4 separate regions of the Homo sapiens genome follow, and all the other regions are linked to region 1. Evidence: promoter capture Hi-C in human tissues and cell types (Jung and others, 2019). All regions are on one chromosome and are shown on one strand. Each heading gives the region's core, a stretch centred on a gene start or on the middle of the fragment in contact. The rest is flanking DNA. Distances are from core to core; before and after follow the strand shown. Region 1 holds the start of NDUFB7 (NADH:ubiquinone oxidoreductase subunit B7). Region 2 holds the start of EPHX3 (epoxide hydrolase 3). Region 3 overlaps HACL2 (2-hydroxyacyl-CoA lyase 2). Region 4 has its middle 4.0 kb from the start of SYDE1.

Region 1 (6,101 bases), core at 1,948-4,447:
TGTTCTCAAGTGATCCTTCTGCCTCCGCCTCCCAAAGCCGTGTAATTACAGTCGTTAGCCACCGCACCCAGTCTATTCAACAAATATTTTCTAAGCATCTACTGCACGCCAGTTCTGTTCTAGGTGCAGTAATATGGCAGTGAACAAGACAGACAAAATTCCCTGCTTCACAGAGCTGAGTTGAGAGAAGAGACCAATAATAAACAAAATAAATAAGGCAAATGGATCGCAGTTTAAATGGTGCTAAGTGCGAAGGAGGAAAATAAAGGTCCAGCATGATGGCTCACGCCTGTAATCCCAGCACTTTGGGAGGCCAAGGCAGGTGGTTTGCTTGAGCCCAAGAGGTTGAGATCAGCCTGGGCAACATGGCAAAACCTCATCTCTACAAAAATACAAATATTAGCTGGGCGTAGTGGCACGCACGTGGAATCCCAGCTACTCGGGAGGCTGAGGCAGGAGGGTCGCCTGAGCCCAGGAGGCAGAGGCTGCAGTGAGCCGAGATCATGACACTGCACTCCAGCCTGGGTAATAGAGCAAGACCCTGTCTTGAAAAAATAAAAAAATAAAGCCAGGAAAGGGGTGGAATCCATCAGGAGGAGGGGAGCCCTCGCTGGCTGGGAACATTATGAGATAGGTATTACAAACCTCATCTTACAGATGAGTAAACTCAGTCTGCGAGAAATGAAGTCACTTCTGGGGGTCACACAGGGAAAGTGAGCTAGTACTGTAATTTGCCTCTCTGGACTCCCTTTGAGCTCTGACCTCTGGGTGAGCAGCTGAAGCACAGAGAAAGGAAGATTAAGGAGACACGCCCAGAACACGTCAGGGTTACTGGATGCAGCTGTGCAGGCTGTGCACGGCACAACTCCAGAAGCACCATTCATAGAGATCACAATGTGAATGCTGCCCCCTTGAGTCTAGAAGGGCACAAGAATCACAGATTAATGTGGTGGCCTGGAGATAGGGACAGGTCACACAGGTAGCCCTGGAAAGAAGGTCTCAGCTGGACGCAGTGGTTCAAGCCTGTAATCCCTGCACTTTGGGAGGCCGAAGCGGGTGGATCACCTGAGGTCAGGAGTTCAAGACCAGCCTAGCCAACATGATGAAACTCCGTCTCTACTAAAAATACAAAAAAATTATTTGGGAGGCCAAGGCGGGCGGATCACAAGGTCAGGAGATCAAGACTATCCTGGCTAACACGGTGAAACCCCGTCTCTACTAAAAATACAAAAAAAGTAGCCGGGCGTGGTGGCGGGCGCTTGTAGTCCCAGCTACTCGGCAGGCTGAGGCAGGAGAATGGCGTGAACCCGGGAGGCGGAGCTTGCAGTGAGCCGAGATTGCGCCACTGCACTCCAGCCTGGGCAACGGAGCAAGACTCCGTCTCAAAAAAAAAAAAAAAAAAATTAGCTGGCCGTGATGGCACCCACCTGTAATCCCAGCTACTTAGGAGGCTAAGGCAGGAGAATCGCTTGAAACCAGAAGGCGGAGGTTGCGGTGAGCCGAGATCACACCACTGCACTCCAGCCTGGGCAACAAGAGTGAAACTCTGTCTCAAAAAAAAAAAAAAAAAAGAAAGAAAAAGAAAAGTCTCTATTGCCAGTTGTCTATTCTCAATAGCTTGCTTTTTTCACTTAATATATCAGCAGCCACTTCCCCATGTCAACACATAAAGATCTAGTTGAGTAATTCTCCCAAAGCTGGTCACTAGACCAGCAACATCACATCACCTGGGAATTTTTATAGACAGGGTCTCACTCTGTTGCCTAGGCTGGAGTGCAGTGATGGGATCACGGCTCACTGCAGCCTGGAACTCCTGGGCTCAAGTTATCCTCCTGCCTCAGCCTCCCGAGTAGCTGGGACTACAAGCGTGCACCACCACACCCAGCTTTTTTTTTTTTTTTTTTTTTTGTAGAGATAGAGTCTCCCTATATTGCCCAGGCTGGTCTCAAACTCCTGAGTTCAGGCGATCCTCCCATCTCAGCTTCCCAAAGCTCTGAGATTACAGGTGTGAGCCACTGCCCTGGCCCATATTTTTTTTTTTCCATTAGACTGTTTTTCTGTTCCATTAGACTGTAAGCTTGAAAGACAGGAACCACGTCTGCCTTTCTGTCTGACCACTGGACCCAGCATACCATACAGTAGATGCCTAATACATGCTTTGTCAGACTGGGGAAAAATATATATTAGATATTAATATTAGATATTAATATATTTTAAAATTGTATAAAGATTGCATATATATATATAATTTATTTGAAATTTCAGCTTTAAATAATTGTTTTTGACCAGGCACAGTGGCTTACGCCCATAATCCCAACACTTTGAGAGGCTGAGGCGGGAGGATCCCTGGAGCCCAAGAGTTCAAGGTTGCAGTGAGCTATGATTGTGCCACTGTGCTCCAGCCTGGGCGACAGAATGAGACCCTATCTCAAAAAATAATAATATAATAATAACTGTATTTATGAATAACTTTTATTTAAATTAAATTTATCAAAATCTTTCTTGGACAGGCACTGTGGCTCATGCCCGTAATCCCAGCAATTTGGGAGGCTGAGGCGGGGGAATCACTTGAGGTCAGGGGTTCGAGACCAGCCTGGCCAACTGGCGAAACCCCGTCTCTACTAAAAATACAAAAATTAGCTGGGGGTGGTGGCGGGCGCCTGTAATCCCAGCTACTCAGGAGGCTGAGGCAAGAGAATTTGAGCCCAGGAGGTGGAGGCTGCAGTGAGCCGAGATCGCGCCAATACACTCCAGTCTGGGCGACAGGTACTGTGTCTCCAAAAACAAAAAATTCTTAAAGTGACTTTATGCAAAATTACATACATTAACGATATAATAGATATCGTGCCTTTTTTAAGAGAAATTTGAATGTTTTCAAAGAAAAAACTTTTTGGAAAATGATATGAAAAATAATTTTAATATGTGCTTTAGCCTCGGGCTACCAGAAGAGCCCCAGATAGGGTCGAGGGAGGCCTCAGTCCCACACCGTCCCCTTCTGCCCCGCCCAGATGGATTTCCAGGCTCAGGGAAGTCCCCTCTCGGGTCCAACCATATCCTGCGAAGAGACACAGCACCTGTCCCGCCTCCGCCTGTCCGCGAGGTGACGCCAGGCGGACCGGAGCGATCCTCTGGAGTCCTTCATCTCTATGATCTCCGCAGCTGCCTAAATGACCCGGAAGCTGTGTCTGACTGAGGGGTCAGTGGTTCCGGGTAGGAGCTAGGTGACCCTCGGCTGCTGCAGGGATCTGCAGCGACTGCAGCCATGGGGGCCCACCTGGTCCGGCGCTACCTGGGCGATGCCTCGGTGGAGCCCGACCCCCTGCAGATGCCAACCTTCCCGCCAGACTACGGCTTCCCCGAACGCAAGGAGCGCGGTGAGGCCCAGTGCGCAGGCGCAGCCAGAGGGCGTGGGGCGCGGGTGCCTGAACACCTGGCACCCCAGGGCTGGCACCCCAGGGCTGGGCTCTAACCTCAGGTGTTGTATCTGGGTTTGGGTCTAGACTAGGAGTCCACAGGACGTGCATGACCCCACCTCAGTGTGGAGGCGTTCCAGCCCAAGGGCACGGCTTGAGCAAAAGCCAGGGAGCAAAAGTGAGGCGACAAGTGGGGGTTCGGGCAGGAATGCGACGCGCAGAGCTGGGTCGAGTCTTTTTTTTTTTTCTTTTGAGACGGAGTCTCGCTTTTTCTTTCAGGCTGGAGTGCAGTGGCTTGGTCTCGATTCACTGGCAGCCTCCACCTCCCGGGTTCAAGCGATTCTCCTGCCTCAGCCTCGCGAGTAGCTGTGATTACAGATGTGTACCACCATGCCCAGCTACTTTTTTGTATTGTTAGTAGAGACGGGGTTTCTCCTTGTTGGCCAGGCTGCTCTTGAACTCCTGACCTCAAGTGATCCGCCCGCCTCGGCCTCCCCAAGTGCTGGGATCGCAGAAGTCAGTCACCACGCCCGGCCTCGGGCCAAGTCTTGGGGGACGTGGGGAGTCATGGGAGGGCAGGGACACGTTCATTGTACCCCCTTCCTGATGTCACTGCAATTGTGGGGTATGCACAAGGAAATAAGGAAGATTCGAGCTGCAAATACTGTCCTGCAAAGTGCTTTGTTTTGCTTTGAGACGGGATCTTGCTCTGTTGCCCAGGCTGAGTGTAGTGGCACAATCACAGCTCATTGCATCCTCGACCTCCTGGGCTCAAATGATCCTCCCGCCTCAGCCTCCCGAGTAGCTGGGACTACAGGAGCGCCCCAGGATGCCAGACTGATTTTTTATTTTTTGTAGAGTTGGGGGTCTTGCTGTGTTGCCCAGGCTGGTCTCAAACTCCTGGGCTCAAACGATCCTTCTGCCCAGCCTCCCAAAGTGCTGGGATTGAAGATGTGAGCCACTACGCCCAGGATGGTTTTTTGGTTCGTGTGTTTGTTTTTGCTTTTAATGTAGTAATATCACAGGCATACCGAGCACCAGCTCTGGGCCACGTCCCACATTAGGCACCGCGGATACAGCAGGGAACTGGAGGGATGCAGGCACTGTCTCCAGAGAACTCAGCACAGTGGGAAAGATTGTGGAATCAGGCAGAGCTGGGGGTGTCAAAGCAGGCTTCCAAGAGGCAGTGGCTGGAAACAAAGACGTGAAGGGTGGCCGGTCGTGGTGGCTCATGCCTGTAATCCCAGCACTTTGGGAGGCTAAGGCGGGCAGATCACCTGGGGTCAGGAGTTTGAGACCAGCCTGGCCAACATGGTGAAACACCATCTCTACTAAAAATATAAAAATTGAGGCCGGGCATGGTGTCTCACACCCATAATCCCAGCACTTTGGGAGGCCGAGGCGGGCAGATCACGAGGTCAGGGGATTGAGACCATCCTGGCCAATGTGGTGAAACCCTGTCTCTACTAAAAATACAAAAATTAGCCAGGGGCGTGGTGGTGCACACCTGTAGTCCCAGCTACTCAGGAGGCTGAGGCAGGAGAATCGCTTGAACCCAGGAGGCAGAGGTTATAGTGAGCCGAGATCACACCACTGCACTCCAGCCTGGGCGACAGAGCAAGACTCCATCTCAAAAACAAAATACAAAAATTAAGCCGGGCACGGTGGCTTATGCCTGTAATCCCAGCACTTTGGGAGGCCAAGGCCGGTGGATCACCTGAGGTCAGGAGTTTGAGACCAGCCTGGCCAACATGGTGAAACCCCGTCTCTACTCTACTAAAAATACAAAAATTAGCCAGGTGTGGTGGCGCATGCCTGTAATCCCAGCTGTCTGGGAGGCTGAGGCAGGAGAATTGGCTGGAACCCAGGAGGCAGAGGTTGCAGTGAACCAAGGTCAGGCCACCACACTCCAGCCTGGGTGACAGAGCGAGACTGTCTGAAAAAACAAAACAAAACAAAACAAAGATGTGAAGGGGCATGAGTAGGGGTTGACCAAAGAGAGGTGGCAGAGCCAAGCTTCTAAGCAGAGGAGGGACACAATCAGTTTTGGTTGGTCAAAAGGTCACACTGTCTACTGAGTGGGCGACAAGCTTGAGACAGAGACCTCTAAGCAGCCTGGATTTGAGAGAAAGTTGGGAGATGGTATAATCACTCCAGTGTCCACACTCCGGGTAGTCCTTCCGCCCCAGCTGAACCTGCAGTTCATTGGTCCGTCCACCTTCCTCCCACTGCCTCACATACCTTGCTTTCCCCAAGATCAGCTTTGCAAACGCTAGCAACCTGCTGCCCTTCTCTCTTGCTTACTCTGGATAAACTCACCTCTTTCCCTTCCTTGGTGCCTATCCCCGTGCAACTGAACATAATGGGGGGCGGGGAGATAAGAAAAAAACAGCTCTAAGCCAGGCAAAATGGCTCATGCCTGTAATCCCAACGGTTTGGGAGGCAAAGGCAGGAGGATTGCTCAAGGCCAGAAGTTCAAGAACAGCCTGGGCAACATAGCAAGGCCCTGTCTCTACAATTTTTTATTTTTATTTTTTAATTAGCTGGGTGTGGTGGCGCATTCCTGCAGTCCCTGCTGACCGGTCTCCCGATTGGTACTCCAGTGGACTCTTTATGGTGCCTGGCCTTTCTCTTACCTCCCGGATCCTTCACTCTCTCCCTCCCTCCTAGATCACTGTCCCCTGCCCT
Region 2 (6,101 bases), core at 1,558-4,057, 660 kb before region 1:
GTGGGAGGATCGCTTGAGGTCAGGAGTTAAGAGACTAGCCTGGCCAACATGGTGAAACTCCCATCTCTACTGAAAAATACAAAAAATTAGCGGGGCGCGGTAGCACACACCTGTAGTCCCGGCTACTCCGGAGGCTGAGGCAGGAGAATTGCTTGAACACTGGAGGCGGAGGTTGCGGTGAGCCGAGATCACACCACTGCATTCCAGCTTGGGTGATATGGTGAGACTCCCATCTCAAAAAAAACAAAAACAAAAAAACCCCCAAAGCTTTGATGTAGGCTAATCACACAACAAAAGAAAGGTAGTGGTTAAGTAGTCCAGGGAGAACAAAAGTTTGTACACTATGGGCAATGTAATCATAGTGGTCTATTCGGCTCTTGAGATGCATTGTTCACTGAGGCAGAACATAAACCACTATTCACCTTTAAGTGGCAACTTCATGGACTTAGTTATGGTCCCAGGACAGTATAATGTTTAGCAGCCTTGACAGTACAAAGGTATATGGATAAAAGTGGGAGGTGGAAAGGGGCAAGAGGTGACAAGTGGAGTGTTTTTAAAGGAAACTAACAGGGAAACAAAAAACGGCACGTCCGGGGTAGTGATGTGAGCAAGTCAGTGGCTGATGTCATACATTGGTTAAGTCAAGAAATAAAGGTCAGGCACGGTGGCTTGCATCTGTAATCCCACTTTGGGAGGTGGAGGCTTGAGGATTGCTTGAGGCCAGGAGTTTGAGACCAGCCTGGACAATATAGCAAGTCGTCTCTCTGAAAAGTTTTTGAAAAATTAGCTGAGTGTGGTGGCACAGGCCTGTAGTCCCAACTACAGGTTGTAGTGCTTGAGCCCAGGAGTTCGAGGCTGCAGTGAGCTATGATCGAAACTCCATCTGAAAAAAAAAGAAAAAGCTAAAAACGTTCCAGTGGCTGCTTCCGGGAGGAAGGGGAGGTGTAGCCACAGATCGCTGCCTTTTTCCCTACATCTTTGCGGATGGCTATTTTACAAGATGTATGTCTTCAGGCAAATGACTTCATCCTCGAATTTCAGGTTCATGATCTATACTACAGGAATGTGATTATGCTACTTAGACTTAATAGGGTTGCTCTATGGTTAAGTGATGGCTGTCCCTAAAATGTTCAAGGATATCGGGAGAAGGTTGCAAAATAGGAGGAAGAAGCTGGCTGCTTTTTTTTTTTTTTTTGAGACGGAGTCTCGCTCTGTCGCCCTGGCTGGAGTGCAGTGGCGCAATCTCAGCTCACTGCAACCTCCGCCTCCTGGGTTCACGCCGTTCTCCTGCCTCAGCCTCCCTAGTAGCTGGGACTACAGGCGCCCGCCACCACGCCTGGCTAATTTTTTGTATTTTTAGTAGAGACAGGGTTTCACCATGTTAGGATGGTCTCGATCTCCTGACCTCGTGATCCGCCCGCCTCGGCCTCCCAAAGTGCTGGGATTACAGGCGTGAGCCACCGCGCCTGGCCAGAAGCTGGCTTCTTGCAGGGACAGCAGGGCCGCAAGGCTCTGTGACTCTAGGCCCCATCACACCCGGCCCTGTCCCACTTCCTCTTTCGGCCAGAACCCCAGAACTCCAGTCATTCATAGGCCGGGTCCTCCTCGGGGGAACCAGGCCTGCCCCCTAGGAATCAGGGTATCCACGCCTCCTCGGCCCGCTCTCGGAGCCTGGGCCTCAACACCTGCAGATTGGCTCCCGGGCCAGGACCTGTCGCTTGAACATCAGTGGCCGCCGCCGTCCAATCACAGACGTACAGGGGCGGGCTGGCGGGCCTGTTGGGCCAGCAGGAGGACGGCGCCGGGCCGAGGCCGCTGGACCCGCCGTTGGAACCACAGCTGGGTGAAGTCAGTGCTGCTAGGTCTTTGGAGCCAGACCGAAGGGAGGGTCGCGCGCCCCTGGGTGGGTAGCACCAGGCGGCGGCCGTCGGCCGGGCCTCCCGAAGCCTCCTCCAGCCGCTAATACCGCCCGCGCCTCCCTCCTAGTCCTAGACCTGGCATTGCCTGTCCCTCTTCTTCGTCTTCCAGACCCTCCTGACCCGCCATATTAGGTCCCGGCCCCGCCCTCCGTCTCATTGCCCATTGCCCACCCCACCCCACCGCCCCCTCCCCGGCCTACCGTCAGCTCATTGGCCCAGGCTCCCGCCTTCTTCGCCCAATGTTAGGCCTCACCTCCTCTAGGATCCACCCTCTCCCCGCCCACCCGCATAAGCCAGGCCCACCATTCCAACTCTTTCTCCTTTTTGGCTTGTAGGCCGCACCTACTCTGCATATGCCCCGCCCCTCACTCCAGGTGTCGCCCACTTAACTGAAGATCCAGGATCCCCTCCTTAAGGTTTGTCTGGGCTCGGAATTGCCTTTTTTTTTTTTCTTTTTTGAGACGGAGTTTCCCTGTTGTGACCCAGGCTGGAGTACAGTGGCGCGATCTCAGCTCACTGCAACCTCCACGTCCCGGGTTCAAGCGATTCTCCTGCCTCAGCCTCCCAAGTAGCTGGGACTACAGGCGCCCGCCACCACGCCCAGCTAATTTTTGTATTTTTAGTAGAGACGGGGTTTCACCACGTTGCCCAGGCTGGTCTCGAGCTCTTGATCTCAGGTGATCCGCCCGCCTCGGCCTACCAAAGTGCTGGGATTACAGGCGTGAGCCACCGCACCCGGCCCGGAATTGCCGCCTTTAGACCCTCACCCACCCGCTGCTGAGTCTTCCTGGGCCCCGCCCCGGCCCTAAGCCCCGCACAGGACCTGCTAGGCCCCGCCCATTTATTTCCCCCCTTTCCAACCTCTTCCTCCCCAGCCTCCGCACCCTACCCTTGTTTCCTGTCCCTGTCGCGCCCAGGTGTTTACCTGGCACTCAGGTGAGTGGTGCGCTCTGGCTGTTTTCTGTCGGAGCCGCCCGCCTCTTCCTTCAGCGCGTCCCACAAATCCCGACGGCACGGAGGGGCCCCAGGCCAAGGGCGATGGGCCCCTGAGCCCTGACACCGCTTCGCCGCTGCTGCAGGTGCCCCTGGCCGGCAGCGCCGCCGTGGTCCCGGAGCGCGGCGACATGCCGGAGCTGGTGGTGACCGCGCTGCTGGCGCCGTCGCGCCTGTCGCTGAAGCTGCTGCGCGCCTTCATGTGGAGCCTGGTGTTCTCGGTGGCGCTGGTGGCCGCGGCGGTCTACGGCTGCATAGCGCTCACGCACGTGCTGTGCCGGCCCCGGCGCGGCTGCTGCGGGCGCCGTCGGAGCGCGTCCCCCGCCTGCCTGAGCGACCCCTCGCTGGGTGAGCACGGTTTCCTGAACCTCAAGGTGATCGCACGGGGGCGCTATCGGGGCTGCGGGGTCGCGTGGGGTCGAGACGGTTCAAGCCTCGGGAGAGAGGGTTCCCCAGGCTTCAGGCTGTGCCCTCCCCCTAGAGCTCGGGCCTGCGTCTGCACTATGTCTCGGCTGGACGAGGTAACGGACCCCTCATGCTGTTTCTGCACGGCTTCCCTGAGAACTGGTACGTCTGGGGCCAGGGGCCTGAGGCCCACGGGACTCGGGGGCAGGTGGAGCTTGGGCTCCCAAGAGGCAGGGAGGAGGGCTGTATAGATCGGGACAAGCTGAACATAGATGGGGATAGGGGTACTGAGCCAGCATACCCAGGATCCCTAGGCCCTGAAGGGACAGGACAAAGGGGTATTGAGGTTGATTGAAGTTCCCTGGATTCAGGGTGTAGCTGGCTTCAGCCTCAGCCTCTGCCTCTGCCTGGGATTCCCCATCCTCCTTTTAGGGGAAGTTTAGAGCAGGAAGGAGGGTTTGCCAATGGTTGCTGATGTGCGTAGGGTGCAGGTGCAACCTGAGGGCCCTGACTCAGCCTCCCTCCCTCGCCCGCCTGGCAGGTTCTCCTGGCGTTACCAGCTCCGGGAGTTCCAGAGCCGCTTCCATGTTGTGGCTGTGGACTTGCGAGGCTATGGCCCCTCGGATGCACCTCGGGATGTGGACTGCTACACAATCGACCTGCTGCTGGTGGACATCAAAGATGTCATCCTAGGCCTGGGTGCAGACATACCCCCATCCTAGGCGTGGCCTCCCTCATCCTGCACACACGCATACCCCCGCTTTCTCCTTGCTGGAACCTACTTCCCCCATCCCTGCTTCAGTCCTACTGGGCACCTCACTTATGCGAGCTCCTTGAATTCCCACAGGTTACTCGAAGTGCATCCTTGTGGCCCATGACTGGGGTGCCCTCCTTGCCTGGCATTTCTCCATCTACTACCCATCCCTGGTCGAGCGGATGGTTGTGGTCAGTGGTGCCCCCATGTCGGTGTACCAAGGTGTGTGTGGGAGTCCGGGACACTGGGATGTACTTATGTGCAAGGGGGCAGGGACATGTGTCTGTGTTTTCAATTCTCTGTATACCTGTCAACACATCAGGGGCTGAGGGTGCAGCAATCAACCCAGGTCCCTTCGGTTGTGGAACTCCTCATTCGGAAATTAATGACACGCCAGACCCAGTGGCTCACACCTGTAATCCCAGCCCTCCGGGAGGCTGAGGTGGGAGGATCACTTGAGGCCAGGAGTTCAAGACCAGTCTGGTCAACATAGCAAGACCCCAACTGTCTCTACAAAAAAAAAAAAAAAATGTAATTAGCCAGGCATTGGTGGTGCATGCCTGTAATCCCAGCTACTCGGGAGGCTGATGCAGGAGAATCTCTTGAACCTGGGAGGTGGAGGTTGCAGTGAGCTGAGATCATGCCATTGCACTCCAGCCTAGGCAACAAGAGCAAAACTCCATCTCAAAAAATAAATAAATAAAATAAAGTATGGCCAGGCGTGGTGGCTCCTGCCTGTAATCCCTGCACTTTGGGAGGCCAAAGCCGGTGGATTGCTTGAGCCCAGGGGTTCAAGACCAGCCTGGCCAACATGGTGAAACCCCGTCTCTACTAAAAATACAAAAAAATCAGCCAGGCATGGTAGTGCACGCTTGTAGTCTCAGCTACTCGGGAGGCTGAGGCAAGAGAATCACTTGAACCTGAGAAGTGGAGGTTGCAGTAAGCCAAGATCGCACCACTGCACTCCAGCCTGGATGACAGAGTGAGACTCTGTCTCAAAAATAAAATAAAATAAAATAAATCACAATACACTTAGGAGTAATCCACATTTTTTTATAGCACTTACAGTAACAAGGAATATGCACACAGTAACCTACTTAAGGCTCCTGGGCTTATGAAGGTTGTATTATCCCCATGTTCCAGCTGGAGGAAACTGAGGCTGGGGAGGTTAACAATGTCTATCATATCACCTGATGTTAATATGCAGCACTGTGGTCATAACTGTGCTCTCTCTCTCTCTTTTGTTGTTTTTTTTCTTTTTCTTTTCTTTTCTTTTTTTTTTTTTTTTTTTTTTTTTTGAGACAGAGTCTTGCTCTGTCGCCAGGCTGGAGTGCAGTGGCGTGATCTCAGTTCACTGCAACCTCCGCCTCCCAGGTTCAAGCGATTCCCCTGCCTCAGCCTCCCAAGTAGCTGGGATTACAGGCCACCATGCCGGGCTAATTTTTTGTATTTTAGTAGAGACGGGGTTTCACCATGTTGGCCAAGATGGTCTTGATCTCCTGACCTTGTGATCTGCCCACCTTGGCCTCTCAAAGTGCTGGGAGTATAGGCGTGAGCCACCACGCCTGGCCCCTTTTTTTTTTTTTTTTCTTGAGATGGAGTCTCACTCTGTGCAGTGCAGTGGCGCAATGTCGGCTCACGGCAACCTCCGCCTCTCAGGTTCAAGTGATTCTCTTGCCTCAGCCTCCTCAGTAGCTGAGACTACAGATGTGTGCCACCATGACCGGCTAATTATTTTGTATTTTTAGTAGAAATGGGGTTTCAGCATGTTGGCCAGGCTGGTCTTGAACTCCTGGGCTCAAGCGATCTGCCGGCCTCAGCCTCCCAAAGTGCTGGGATTACAGGAGTGAGCCACCCTGCCTGGCAACCTCTACCTCCTGGGTTCAAGTGACTCTCCTTCCTCAGCCTCCAGAGTAGCGGGGACTGCAGATATGCCCCAACACGCCCAGCTAATTTTTGTATTTTTAGTGGAGACGGGTTTTCACTATGTTGCCCAGGTTAGTGTCTAACTCCTGATCTCAAGTGATCCA
Region 3 (6,101 bases), core at 1,870-4,369, 550 kb before region 1:
CTGGGTTATATAACCCTCTCCTCTCTCCCTGATTGCCCTGCCATCCTGGAGACAGGCAGTGTAACAGTGGGGCACTTAAGAGCGTGGGTTCTATTGAACTTTCAGTCTTACTTGGGCAAGCCTTGATGTCCTCAGCTGTAAGAGGGATGTAATGACAAGAGGATCTGATAAGATGTTATGCCTTGGTTTGAGCCTGGCATGTAGTATAATATATGCCTAACCAAGACCAAGCTTCTCTTGACCTCTCACCCTGCTCCTGCCCCCTTACCTGGGGCAGGGGGATTGCCCCCTTTCCCAGCTGCCCTCTGCCCTGGCCTTTAACTTTATTGCTCCACCTGTCCTTGGGCCCAGGTGGACAAGGCAAGCGTCCGGCATGGCGGAGAGAACGTGGCCGCTGTGCTGAGGGCCCATGGTGTGCGGTTCATCTTCACGCTGGTCGGTGGGCACATTTCCCCGCTGCTGGTGGCCTGTGAGAAACTGGGCATCCGTGTGGTGGACACACGCCATGAGGTCACGGCCGTCTTTGCTGCTGATGCTATGGCCCGCCTGTCCGGTGAGGGCATTGCAGAGAGGGCTGGGGACTGGTTGGACTGTGGGCTAGAGTGTCTGTGAGGGTAGGGGTTTTTCAGAGGTGGAAGAATGGCCAAGAGAGTGGGCATGGCTGTGATGGGCTCTGTGTTCCAGGGACGGTGGGCGTGGCGGCAGTGACAGCAGGCCCTGGCCTCACCAACACGGTGACTGCGGTGAAGAATGCTCAGATGGCTCAGTCCCCAATCCTGCTTCTGGGTGGGGCTGCCAGCACTCTGCTGCAGGTACCCAGTCCTTGGGGGCCAGTGGGGGCCTAGGGGGGCTTGAAGGGCTCATGCGATAACCCTGCCACACCTCTGTCTTTGCCAGAACCGGGGTGCGCTCCAGGCTGTTGATCAGCTGTCCCTTTTCCGGCCACTCTGTAAGTTTTGTGTGTCTGTGCGGAGGGTGCGGGACATTGTGCCCACCCTGAGGGCCGCGATGGCTGCCGCCCAGTCGGGCACCCCAGGTAGGTGGAGGATGGTGATGCTGAGCAGTGCTGGGGCCGAGGGGCTGGGGACATGTTATGGACTCAGCGTCCTCCCTGTCCCTGCAGGTCCGGTGTTTGTGGAGCTGCCCGTTGACGTGCTGTACCCCTACTTCATGGTCCAGAAGGAGATGGTGCCAGCCAAGCCACCCAAGGGCCTCGTGGGCCGAGTGGTCTCCTGGTGAATAGCCCCACCCCTGCCATTCCCTCCTTTATCCCCCGTTCTCTCCTGCAGCTTCCAGCCCACACCCATCCTCCTTTGATTCACATGTGGACTGGGAGGAGACAGCTGGGGGGAGAGCATTCCAGGTAGAAGGAACAGCATGTGCAAAGGTCCTGAGGCAGGAATGAACTGGGTGGGTAGGGAAAGCAAGGCGGCCCTCGTGGAGGCAGCAAAGGGGAGAGGCTCAGGACAGCCCTCCTCCTCCTCCTTTTCCCTTTCTTCTCCTCCTCCATCATCTCTTCTTCCTCCTCTTCCTCCTCCCTCTTCCTTCCTCTTCTCCTCCCTTTCCCCCACCACCTTTCCCATCGTCCTCTCCGTTTTCCTCCTCCTAAAGGATGATCCTTGAACCTCGGAAGGGAGGTTCATTCTTACATTTACAGAGGAGGAAGCTCAGAAAGGTGAAGTCACTTGCCCAAAGTCACACAGCTAAGAAGTGGCAGAGCCCAGGCCGGGTGCGGTGGCTCTCACTTGTAATCCCAGCACATTGGGAGGCCGAGGTGGGCAGATCACGAGGTCAGGAGATCGAGACCATCCTGGCTAACATGGTGAAACCCCATCTCTACTAAAAATACAAAAAAAAAAAAAATTAGCCGGGCGTGGTGGCGGGCGCCTGTAGTCCCAGCTACTTGGGAGGCTGCGGCAGGAGAATGGCGTGAACCCAGGAGGTGGAGCTTGCAGTGAGCCAAGATCGTGCTACTGCACTCCAGCCTGGGTGACAGAGCAAGACTCCGTCTCAAAAAAAAAAAAAAAAGTGGCAGAGCCCAGACTCGAGCCCTCTCCTTCCTCCTCCTTTCCTTCCCTCACATCTTTGTCCTTTTCTTTCTTTTTTTTTTTTTTTGAAACAGATTCTTCGTTCTGTTGCCTAGGCTTGAGTGCAGTGGCGTGATCTCGGCTCACTGCAACCTCCGCCTCCCCCTGGGTTCAAGTGATTTTCCTGCCTCAGCCTTCTGAGTAGCTGGGACTACAGGCGCCCGCCACCACACCTGGCTAATACTTGTATTTTTAGTAGAGACGAGGTTTCATCATGTTGGCCAGGCTGGTCTTGAACTCTTAACCTCAAGTGATCCACCCTCCTCGGCCTCTCAAACATTACAGACATGAGCCACTGCGCCTGGCCTCTTCTCTTCTTCTTCTTCCTTTCCTTTCTTCTCCTCCTCCTCTTCCTCTTCTTCCTCCTTCTCTCCCTTCCCCTCAGTCCCTTCCCTTTGCCTGTCCTTGGCCCTTCCTTTCCATACATTTAGCGAGCGGCAGCCATGTGCCAGGTTCCAGGACAGGCACGGGGCATCATCAGTGGACAAGGTAGTCAGGCTCCTGTACTCCGGATGTGTGTGAAGCGCCTGAGGGTCAGCTCAGGCAGTAGTGATTTTGTTCTATGGCCTCTTTATTTTTTTTGAGACGGAGTCTCGCTTTGTCCCCCAGGTTGGAGCGCAGTAGTGCGATCTTGGCTCACTGCAACCTCCACCTCCCGGGTTCAAGTGATTCTCCTGCCTCAGCCCCCGGAGTAGCTGGGAATACAGGTGCAGTCCACCATACCCAGCTAATTTTTGTATTTTTAGTAGAGATGAGGTTTCACCATTTTGGTCATATAGCCTCATTCTTAATGCACTTTGCCCCCTGGCTTCCCAGTCAGTCCCTCCCCTTGTTCTCCTTGCCCCTCTCTCTTGGGCTGCCTCTCACAAGGCTATCTCTTATCTTGCCTTTTTTGTTTTGTTTTGTTTTGAGACAGGGCCTCACTCTATCACCCAGGCTGGAGTGCAGTGGTATGATCATAGCTCACCACAGCCTTGAACTCCTGGCCTCGAGCAATCCTCCTGCCTCAGCCTCCCTTGCCTTTTCTTTACTTGCGGGGCTTCCCACGGTTCCATCCTGGGCTGCTTCTGTGCTGTCTTGGCCTGTCCTTAACGGTGAAAGCAGAGGCTTCTGACTCTGAGCTCCGACTGTTTCCTGCCAATGCCCATGTGTCTGTCTTTCGCTGGATAGAGCGCCCCCTGAGGGGAGGGCTGGGCAGGATCTATCTTTGTGTCTCCAGGGCCCTGCACAGGTCCTTCAGGAAAGTTGGGGCCCTGGGGCCCAGTGAGCAAGGAGACCGAGAAGACCCTGTTTGAAGCAGGAGAGGACAGTGTTCAGAACTCCCATGCAAAGCGCCTCATGTCCTAAGTGGACAGATCCTTGAACCTGGGGAGGGAGGTTCATATTTACATTGACAGAGGTGGAAGCTCAGAAGGGTGAAGTCACTTGCCCTAAGTTGCACAGCTAGGAAGTGACAGAGCCAGGACTTGAGCTCACATCTGTTGGACCCACAGGCTTAATCCTGGCATGCTGAGCCTGCGTTCCTTGCTTCTGGGGGGCTACGTGGAGTTGGGGTGGACCCCAGAGGCTACCGAGGGCAAACAGGCAGTTGAAGACCTGGCCACTAGGGTTCGTCTGTCCCTGAGGTGTCACTCATCCACCCTGTCCCCATGCCACTTTGCTCCTGGCTTTTCTCCCGGCCCCTTTCCTTGCTCAGATCCTGGAATCCTTGTAGTTAGTTAATTCTGGCAACTTGGTTTCTTCCCCCTCCCTTTTGCAGGTATTTAGAGAATTACCTGGCCAACCTCTTTGCAGGAGCCTGGGAGCCTCAGCCCGAGGGACCGCTGCCCCTGGACATCCCCCAGGCTTCCCCGCAGCAGGTGAATTGCCTCTCTTTTGTGTCTGAGGACCCTACCCTCTCCCTGAGGGGAGAGGGCCCCCTGACCCTCTCCCTGAGTCAGTACTGGGGCCTTAATCTTGGGTGCTCATGGCGACTCAAGGGCGGCCCTTTGGCTGGACGCGGTGGCTCACAGCAGCAATCCCAACACTTAGGGAGGCCGAGGCAGGCGGATCACTTGAGGCCAGGAGTTCAAGACTAGCCTGGCCAACATGGTGAAACCCTGTCTCTACTGAAAATACAAAAGTTAGCCAGGCATGGTGGCACGCGCCTGTAATCCCAGCTACTCTGGAGGCTGAGGCGGGAGAATCGTTTGAACCTGGGAGGTGGAGGCTGCAGTGAGCTGAGATCATGCCATTACACTCTATCCTGGGCAACAGAGTGAAACTGTGTCTCAAAAAAATAAATAAATAAAAAGACAGCCCTTTGATCCCCACCTCTCGCTCCAGGTTCAGCGCTGTGTGGAGATCCTGAGCCGGGCCAAGAGGCCTCTGATGGTGCTGGGGAGTCAGGCCCTGCTCACCCCAACGTCTGCCGACAAGCTTCGGTGAGAAGCGCCAGCCCTGCCCTTGTTTTCACGTTCCCAGTCCCCAGTCCTCGGGTGCTCTTGGGGAGGCGGGAGGCCCCGGCCACACTGACCTCTGCTCTGCCTGGACTCCCAGGGCTGCCGTGGAGACCTTGGGTGTTCCCTGCTTCCTTGGAGGGATGGCACGGGGGCTGTTAGGCCGCAACCACCCCCTCCACATCCGGGAGAACCGCAGTGCGGCCCTGAAGAAGGCGGATGTCATTGTCCTAGCAGGTGGGCCTGAGCCTCTTCCTTTCCCTCCTTCCCCCAGGAACCCCCTCACCCTGTTACCCAGCTTCACACGAAGGAGGAGGAAGGTCTAGTGGGCACCTATTGTACTTGATACACATTTTCACATAAAGCGCTTTGAACCCAACCAGACGCATAATAGGTGTATCAGATAGCTACTGCCCTGTAACAACCATCCCCAAACTCAATGGCTAAAAATGCATTTCTGATTTCTCAAGATCCACCTATAAGGTAGGTGGTAGCTGTGGTTTTGGCTGGGCTCATTCATGAGTCTGCACTTGGGTTAGGCAGGAAGGCAGCTGTGCTGATCCAGGCTGGGCTTGCTCACCTGTATGGGGATTGGCTGGCCCTGCAGCTCGTCTGGGATGGCCTCAGCTGGGGTCATAGAGTTCTTCACCCCTGTCTCCATGGCCCCCTTGTTTCTCATCCTCCAGTAGGCTAGCCTGGGCTGGCCGACTTGGTGAAGGATGAGAAAACTATGGGGCTAGGAGAGTGCGGTTATTCAAGAGAGTGAGTGGAGGCTGTGTGGCTTCTTGAAGTAGAGTCTGCAGGAATGGGGGGTGGGGGTCCTGAATCATCTGGAGGTGTCTTCACTCAGAGGTCTTGCAATTGACGCCAGCTGTTGGAGGGGCTGTGGACTAGGGCAACTACACAGGTCTCTATGTGTGGCTCCGGTTTCCTCCCAGCATGATGGCCTCAGGGTAGTCAGACTTCTTAGACAGAGAGCACATTCCTTGGCCCCACCCAGGCCTCTAAAAGTGAACAAGGAAGAAACTGCATATCTTCCTTGTTGGGTGTCATGGTGTGTCACTTTCAAGGAAAGGGGACCTAGGCTGCACCTCTCTCCATGGGAGGCATGTCAAGGTGACCTTGTACAAATGGATGTAGGGTGGGAGATATTATGGCCATCTGGGAAAATATAACCTGCCTCTGCCCTATCCTGTTGGCCAAAGCATGTCATGAGGCCAGTCCCGATTCAGGGGGTGTGGGGAGCTGCAAGGTCACTGTAGGTGGCACAGGTGCAGGGAGACTCGGTGAGGAACAGGGACTCATTTGCATCCAGTCCACCACAGTGGATCAAGTAAGGTAGACGACATGGGGCCTCTGCCTACTGCATTCCTGTCCCCCACACCAGGAACTGTGTGTGACTTCCGCCTATCCTATGGCCGTGTCCTCAGCCACAGCAGCAAGATCATCATCGTCAATCGTAATCGGGAAGAGATGTTGCTCAACTCAGACATCTTCTGGAAGCCCCAGGAGGCTGTGCAGGGTGAGCCCCTTAATCCCCCCGTACACATATGTGCTCCTCCCAGTCCCTCTCCTC
Region 4 (6,101 bases), core at 2,030-4,529, 530 kb before region 1:
CCGTCTAAAAAAAAAGAAGAAAAGAAAAGAAAAAAAAAGCTACATACCTCCCCCACAATTTGCCTACAAGGAAATTCCTTATGGATGAAGGACAGGCAGAACTCAAAATTGTCCCTCTGCTCACATGAGACAAACACATATCTGATCGCTTCCTTACCTATTTGTTTCACTAAGCCAGACTAAGGCATAAGTGACTATCTCTGTAAATTGCATATTCAGAAAGGCTAGTCAGAAACTCGAAAGAATGCAATTGTTTCTCTCTTATCCACCTATAACCTGGAAGCCTTCTCCCTACTTTTGAGTTGTCCTGCCTTCCCAGACCAAACCCATGTGCATCTTACATATATTGATTGCTGTCTCATGTCTCCCTAAAATATATAAAACTAGACCAAGGTGGAGTGCAGTGGTACCACCACAGCTCACTGCAGTCTCAGCCTCTTGGGCTCAAGTGATGCTCCTGCCTCAGCCTCCCGAGCAAGTGGGACTATAGGCATGTGTCACCATACCTGGCTAATTTCCCTACTTTTTGTAGAGATAGAGTCTCATCATGTTGCCCAGACTGGTCTCAAACTCCTGGGCTCGGCTGGGTGCGGTGGCTCACGCCTCTAATCCCAGCACTGTGGGAGGCCAAGGCGGGCGGATCACCTGAGGTTGGGAGTTCGAGACCAGCCTGACCAACATGGGGAAACCCCTTCTCTACTAAAAACACAAAATTAGCTGGGGGTGGTGGTGCATGCCTATAATCCCAGCTACTCGGGAGGCTGAGGCAGGAGAATCTCTTGAACCCGGGAGGCGGAGGTTGCAGGGAGCCAATATTGTGTCACTGCATTCCAGCCTGGGCAACAAGAGTGAAACTCCGTCTCAAAAAAACAAAACAAAAAAACAAAACAAAACAAAAAACCCTCCTGGTCTCAAGTGATCTGCCCGCCTTGGCCTACCAAGTAGCTAGGATTACAGACCTGAATCAAGGTAGTGGCCCTGACTACCCTAGTTTATGTTGTCAGGAGCTTCTAAGTCTGTGTCACAGGCATGTCCATAACCTTGGCAAAATAAGCTTTCTAAATTTATTGAGACTTATCTGAGATACCTTTTGGTTTACATGATGCTCACAGATGCTGTGGTTCAGTTTGGACAGGGGAGACTTAGGCTAGAGGGTGACTAAAAAATGGCAGGGTCCTGAGTCATCTGGAGGTGTCTTCACTCAGAGGTCTTGCAACTGACGCCAGCTGTTGCTGGGGCTGTGGACCAGGGTAGCTACACAGGCCTCTCCGTGTGGTTCGGGTTTCCTTCCAGCATGGTGGTCTTGGGGTAGTCAGACTTCTTAGACAGCCACCCAGCCCTCTAAAAGTGAACAAGGAAGAAGTTGCATCTCTTCTGACCCAGCCTTGAGTGTCATGCTGTGTCACTTCTGCCACCAGATTCAAGGAAAGGGGGCACAGATTATACCTCTCTACATGGGAGGCATGTCAAGGTGACATTGTACAAGTGGATGTAGGGTGGGAGATATTGTGGCCATCTGGGAAAATATAACCTGTCTTAGCCCTACATTTCATTCTCCATATATTACCCACAGTGGACTTAAAACTGAAATCAGATTGTGGCACCATCCTGCTGAATAGTGTTCCTATGACTGCTCACCTCACCTAGAATAAAATTCAGATTCCCAGCATGGTCTCACAAGACTTCCAGCCTCATCTCTTTGGCTGTCCCATTCACTCACCATGGCCTCCTTTCTGGTTCTCCTTCATATCAAGCTATTTCTGCCTCAGGTCCTTTGCACACATGGTTCCTTCTGCCTGGGAAGCCCTGGTTCTTCTGAGGCCACCTCTCTCTCATCCTTTAGGTCCAATGGCACCTTCTAGGGAGACCCTTTCTGTCCACCACCTCTGTCTAGTCAGTATCACATTACTCAGTTTCCTTTCTTCTAACACTTGCCACAACTTGAATTTAACAGTCCCAGTGGTTTGTTCTAGTTTATCTGCCTCCTCGTCCAGACTGGGTCTCCACCAAGTGATCAAGTGATGCTTGTCTATGTTGTTCACTGCTGAATATTCAGGTAGGAGATCAGGTGTCAGGTGATGGAGGTCTGTATAGGAGGGGGTGTCCAAGAGGCCTGGACGAGGAGGCTGTGTGTGTTTGGTTTTAATGTGTCTTTGTGTGGTTCTCTGTGTTTATTGTACTTGGAGTTTGTTGAGCTTTGTGGATATGTAGATTCATGTCTTTCATCAATTCTGGGCTTCTGGGAAGTTTTTTGGCCATTATTTCATCAAATATTATTATTATTATTTTTTGAGATGGAGTCTCACTCTGTTGCCCAGGCTGGAGTGCAGAGGCATGGTCTTGGCTCACTGCAACCTCTGCTTTCTGGGTTCAAGTGATTCTCCTGCCTCAACCTCTCAAGTAGGTGGGGTTACAGGTGCCTGTCACCATGCCCAGCTAATTTTTGTATTTTTAGTAGAGATGGGTTTTCGTCATGTTGGCCAGGCCGGTCTCAAATTTCTGACCTTAAGTGATCTGCCCACCTTGGCCTCCCAAAGTGCTGGGATTATAGGCATGAACCACCATACCCAGCCTCATCAAATATTCTTTCTGCTCCTTTCACTTCTCTCCTTCTGGGACTCTCATTATGCATATATTGGTATACTCATTATACAACTGTTGATATACAGTTCTCCTAGGTGCTGTTCACTTTTCTTGGATATGTGTGTTTGGGGGGCATCAGTCTGTAAAAGGGTGGAGTGCACCCTCCTCCCTATGAGATCCCTGCGCAGATGTCTTTGAGGCAGCTATTGACAATGGGGAAAGAAGTCAGGGGTCAAGACAATACCTGTTTACAAGTTGAGGGTAGAGGCTGCAGGACTAAGGTCCCAATGGGGTATTTCAGAGTCTCAGAGGAGCTGGGGTCTGACATGGGAGTGAGAGCAACCCTTAGCCCCACCCATATGACACCCACATACCACATAAATATTTATTATTATTATTTTGTGTAAATCTTTTTGAGTTTTTGTACTTTTCCTGTTGTCTTTATTTGCCTGCATGTAGCCTATTTAATTCACCATTGGCTCTGATTCTTTCTTAGCAATCAGAAATTTCCATAAGTGAGAACAGATTATCTGCAAATTGTATGTAATGAAATGGTTATGAATTCTAAGTTTCATAATGATGTTTGTATGCTTATTCCTGTGGATTTTGCTAGTTGCTGTACAGATTTTAGAGCCTGTATGCGTACATTTTCTTTTCTTTTCTTTTATAGAGACATAGTCTTGCTTTGTTGCCCAGGCTGGAGTGCAGTGGCACGATCTTGGCTTACTGCAACCTGTGACTCCCTGGTTTAAGCGATGCTGCTGCCTCAGCCTCCTGAGTAGCTGGGATTACAGGCACACACCACCACGTGCAGCTAATTTTTATATTTTTAGTAGAGATGGGGTTTCACCATGTTGGCCAGGATGGTCTCGATTTCCTGACCTTGTGATCCATCCACCTTGGCCTCCCAAAGAGCTGAGATTACAGGGGTCAGCCACCGTGCCTGGCCCATTTTCTTTTCTTTTAAAAAAATTTATTTTCATGGCCGGGCACTGTGGCTCATGCCTGTAATCCCAGCACTTTGGGAGGCTGAGGCGGGTGGATCACGAGGTCAGGAGTTCAAGACTAGCCTGGCCAAGATGGTGAAACCCCGTTTCTACTAAAAATATAAAAATTAGCTAGGCATGGTGGCAGGCACCTGTAATCCCAGCTACTCGGGAGGCTGAGGCAGGGGAATCGCTTGAACCCAGAGGGTAGAGGTTGGAGTGAGCCAAGATCGTGCCACTGCACTCCAGCCTGGGTGACTAAGACTCTGTCTCAAATTTTTTAAAAATTATTTTCATGTTATTTTTATTTACTTTATTATTATTATTTTATTTATTTTTCTTGCTCTGTTGCTCAGGCTGTAGTGCAGTGGCACTACCACAACTCACTGCACCCTCAACCTCCTAGGCTCAAGTGATGTTCCTGCCTCAGCCTCCCAAGCAACTGGAACTACAGGCATGTGCCACCATGCCACAGGCTGATTTTTCTATTTTTTTGTGGAGATAGGGTCTCATCATGTTGCCTAGACTGTTCTCAAACTTCTGGGCTCAAGTGATCTTCCCACTTTGGCCCCCCAAGTGGCTGGGATTACAGGTGTGAGCCACCGTGCTTGGCCTTATTATTTTTAGAGACATAATCTCCCTCTGTCACCCAAGCTGGTGTGCATTGGTGTGATCATAGCTCACTGCAGACTTGAACTTCTGGGTTCAAGCAATCCTCTTGCCTCAGCCTCCTGAGTGGCTAGGCCTATAGGCATGCACTGCCATACCCAGCTAGCTTTTAAATTTTTTTTGTAGAGACAGGATCTTGCTATGTTGCCCAGGCTGGTCTCAAACTCCTGACCTCAAGCGATCCTTCTTCCTTGGCCTCTCAAAGTGCTGGGATTACAGGTGTGAGCCACTGCACCTGGCCACGTGTGTGTTTTCTTTCCCCTAAATGTTCTCATTGGCTGCAGGTCTGATGTGCTGTGCTTTTGGTACCTGGTGGATTAACCAGCCCCAGACACATATAGACCAATTAGTTGAAAGACCAAAAGACCATTTCCTGTCAGTTTTGGGCAGAGCTCAGCACCTCTGTGGTAGTCAAGGGGAATTGATGGATAAATACCCCAGCTCCCTCACCCTTGTGTTGGATGATTGAGGTTCATGTTCTACACTGACCCCTAGTGTTCACCCACGGGATTGAGCTCCAGCTGTCCACTGTAGAAACCTGGTTATCAATACACTCTTTGCTGACTTCCTTCCCTTCCCTCTCCCACATATCCACCCCACTTACAGTATTTCCTGTTTATTTCCTAAATACTTGAATCCTTGTCTCAAGGTTGGCTTCTGGTGGACTCCAAACACAGACATTCTGTCTAGGCCTCTGTTTCATGTGCAAAGGGAATAATAAATTAGGCTGTTTTCAAGGCTATGGGCATGGGGCGTGGTTCTGTGGGGCTACATCTCCATTCTACCAGCTCCCTGGGGTGCTCAGTTCCTGGGGGATGGGAGATAGAGAAGGTTTTGGGGAGCAGGACCCAAGCTTCCTCCACCCGCTGTGGTCATTCCCATTTGTTTCCACACCTGAGGCTTGCGTCTATCTGGCATCTTCCAGGAGAAGAAGGTGAATACCTCAGCCTGCCTAGGCCTCCCTGGCTGGAAGTCAGACCTCAGAGGAACCAGCAAAGGGGTGGCTGCCCAGAGATATCCATCACAGTAGCATTCAGGAGCTGGAGGGAGAGGGGATGATTGTATATAATGAAATGGTTATGAATTCTGTTAGCATAAAGCAGCTTCCTGAGGCAGGGCACAGTCTCACCTGGGTGACAGTCAGTGGTACAGCATTGCTTGACCAGAGCCTCCCATTGACCCTTGGAAAAATCTGGCCAGACAGCTATAGAGCTGAAACTGAGGTGCAGGAGGGGTCCATAGTTGCTCCATGCCACCTCCAGAGTGGTCTCTGTTTATCAGCTGCAAGGCTGTGGAGCTTTCCTGCTGGCTAGGCCCCTGCACAGCCTCAGGGATAGACTCAGCAACTGGCCACTGCAGCCATGCCAAGAGCTCTCCAAGCTGGACATGGTGGTTCACACCTGTAGTCTCAGCTATTCTGGAGACTGAGGCAGGAGGATCACTTGAGCCCAGGAGTTTGAGGCTTCAATGAGCTATGACTGCACCACTGCCTCTAGCCTGGGCAACAGAGCGAGACCCTGTCTCTCCCCGTCTCTCTCTCTCTTTTTTTTTTTTTCTTGAGACAGGGTTTTCACTCTTGTTGCCCAGGCTGAAGTGCAGTGGCGCAATCTCGGCTCACTGAAACCTCCGCCTCCCAGATTCAAGCGATTCTCCTGCCTCAGCCTCCTGAGTAGCTGAGATTACAGGCGCCCACCACCATGCCTGGCTAGATTTTGTATTTTTTAGTAGAACTCCTGACCTTAAGTTATCTGCCCTCCTTGGCCTCCCAAAGTGCTGGGATTACAGGTGTGAGCCACCGTGCCCAGCTGAGGCCCTGTCTCTTAAACAAAGCTTATCTGATGTCCAGCTCCCAGACCTGGTGTG

What was found. Contacts are between HindIII fragments. The study calls those that stand out against the background at their distance.
Region 2: a contact is called between the fragment with the promoter of EPHX3 here and the fragment with the promoter of NDUFB7 in region 1, in 1 of the 25 tissues and cell types used here (mesenchymal stem cells).
Region 3: a fragment that was not itself captured here is called in contact with the fragment with the promoter of NDUFB7 in region 1 in 1 of the 25 tissues and cell types used here (dorsolateral prefrontal cortex).
Region 4: a contact is called between a fragment that was not itself captured here and the fragment with the promoter of NDUFB7 in region 1, in 4 of the 25 tissues and cell types used here (H1 embryonic stem cells, bladder, lymphoblastoid cells and 1 more).

What each region holds. Positions count from the first base shown.
Region 1 is chr19:14,569,162-14,575,262 of GRCh38, reverse strand. It overlaps NDUFB7 (NADH:ubiquinone oxidoreductase subunit B7), which reads left to right and starts at 3,197. Exons shown (of 3, transcript NM_004146.6): 1 at 3,197-3,374. The coding sequence starts at 3,263. RefSeq lists an enhancer at 2,976-3,265. The HindIII fragment of the contact is 12,939 bases long and covers 254-6,101 here.
Region 2 is chr19:15,229,154-15,235,254 of GRCh38, reverse strand. EPHX3 (epoxide hydrolase 3) reads left to right here and starts at 2,807. Exons shown (of 7, transcript NM_024794.3): 1 at 2,807-3,286; 2 at 3,394-3,479; 3 at 3,859-4,016; 4 at 4,165-4,293. The coding sequence starts at 3,044. RefSeq lists a silencer at 2,058-2,217 and an enhancer at 2,556-3,057. The HindIII fragment of the contact is 16,546 bases long and covers 1-6,101 here.
Region 3 is chr19:15,117,827-15,123,927 of GRCh38, reverse strand. HACL2 (2-hydroxyacyl-CoA lyase 2) reads left to right here. Exons shown (of 16, transcript NM_006844.5): 3 at 352-553; 4 at 685-812; 5 at 898-1,036; 6 at 1,124-1,235; 7 at 3,847-3,946; 8 at 4,413-4,510; 9 at 4,626-4,762; 10 at 5,913-6,047. Among named protein-coding and RNA genes, the nearest start is that of ILVBL-AS1, 3.3 kb to the left of the region's middle. The HindIII fragment of the contact is 6,371 bases long and covers 1-6,101 here.
Region 4 is chr19:15,100,302-15,106,402 of GRCh38, reverse strand. No RefSeq gene overlaps it. Among named protein-coding and RNA genes, the nearest start is that of SYDE1, 4.0 kb to the left of the region's middle. The HindIII fragment of the contact is 6,045 bases long and covers 257-6,101 here.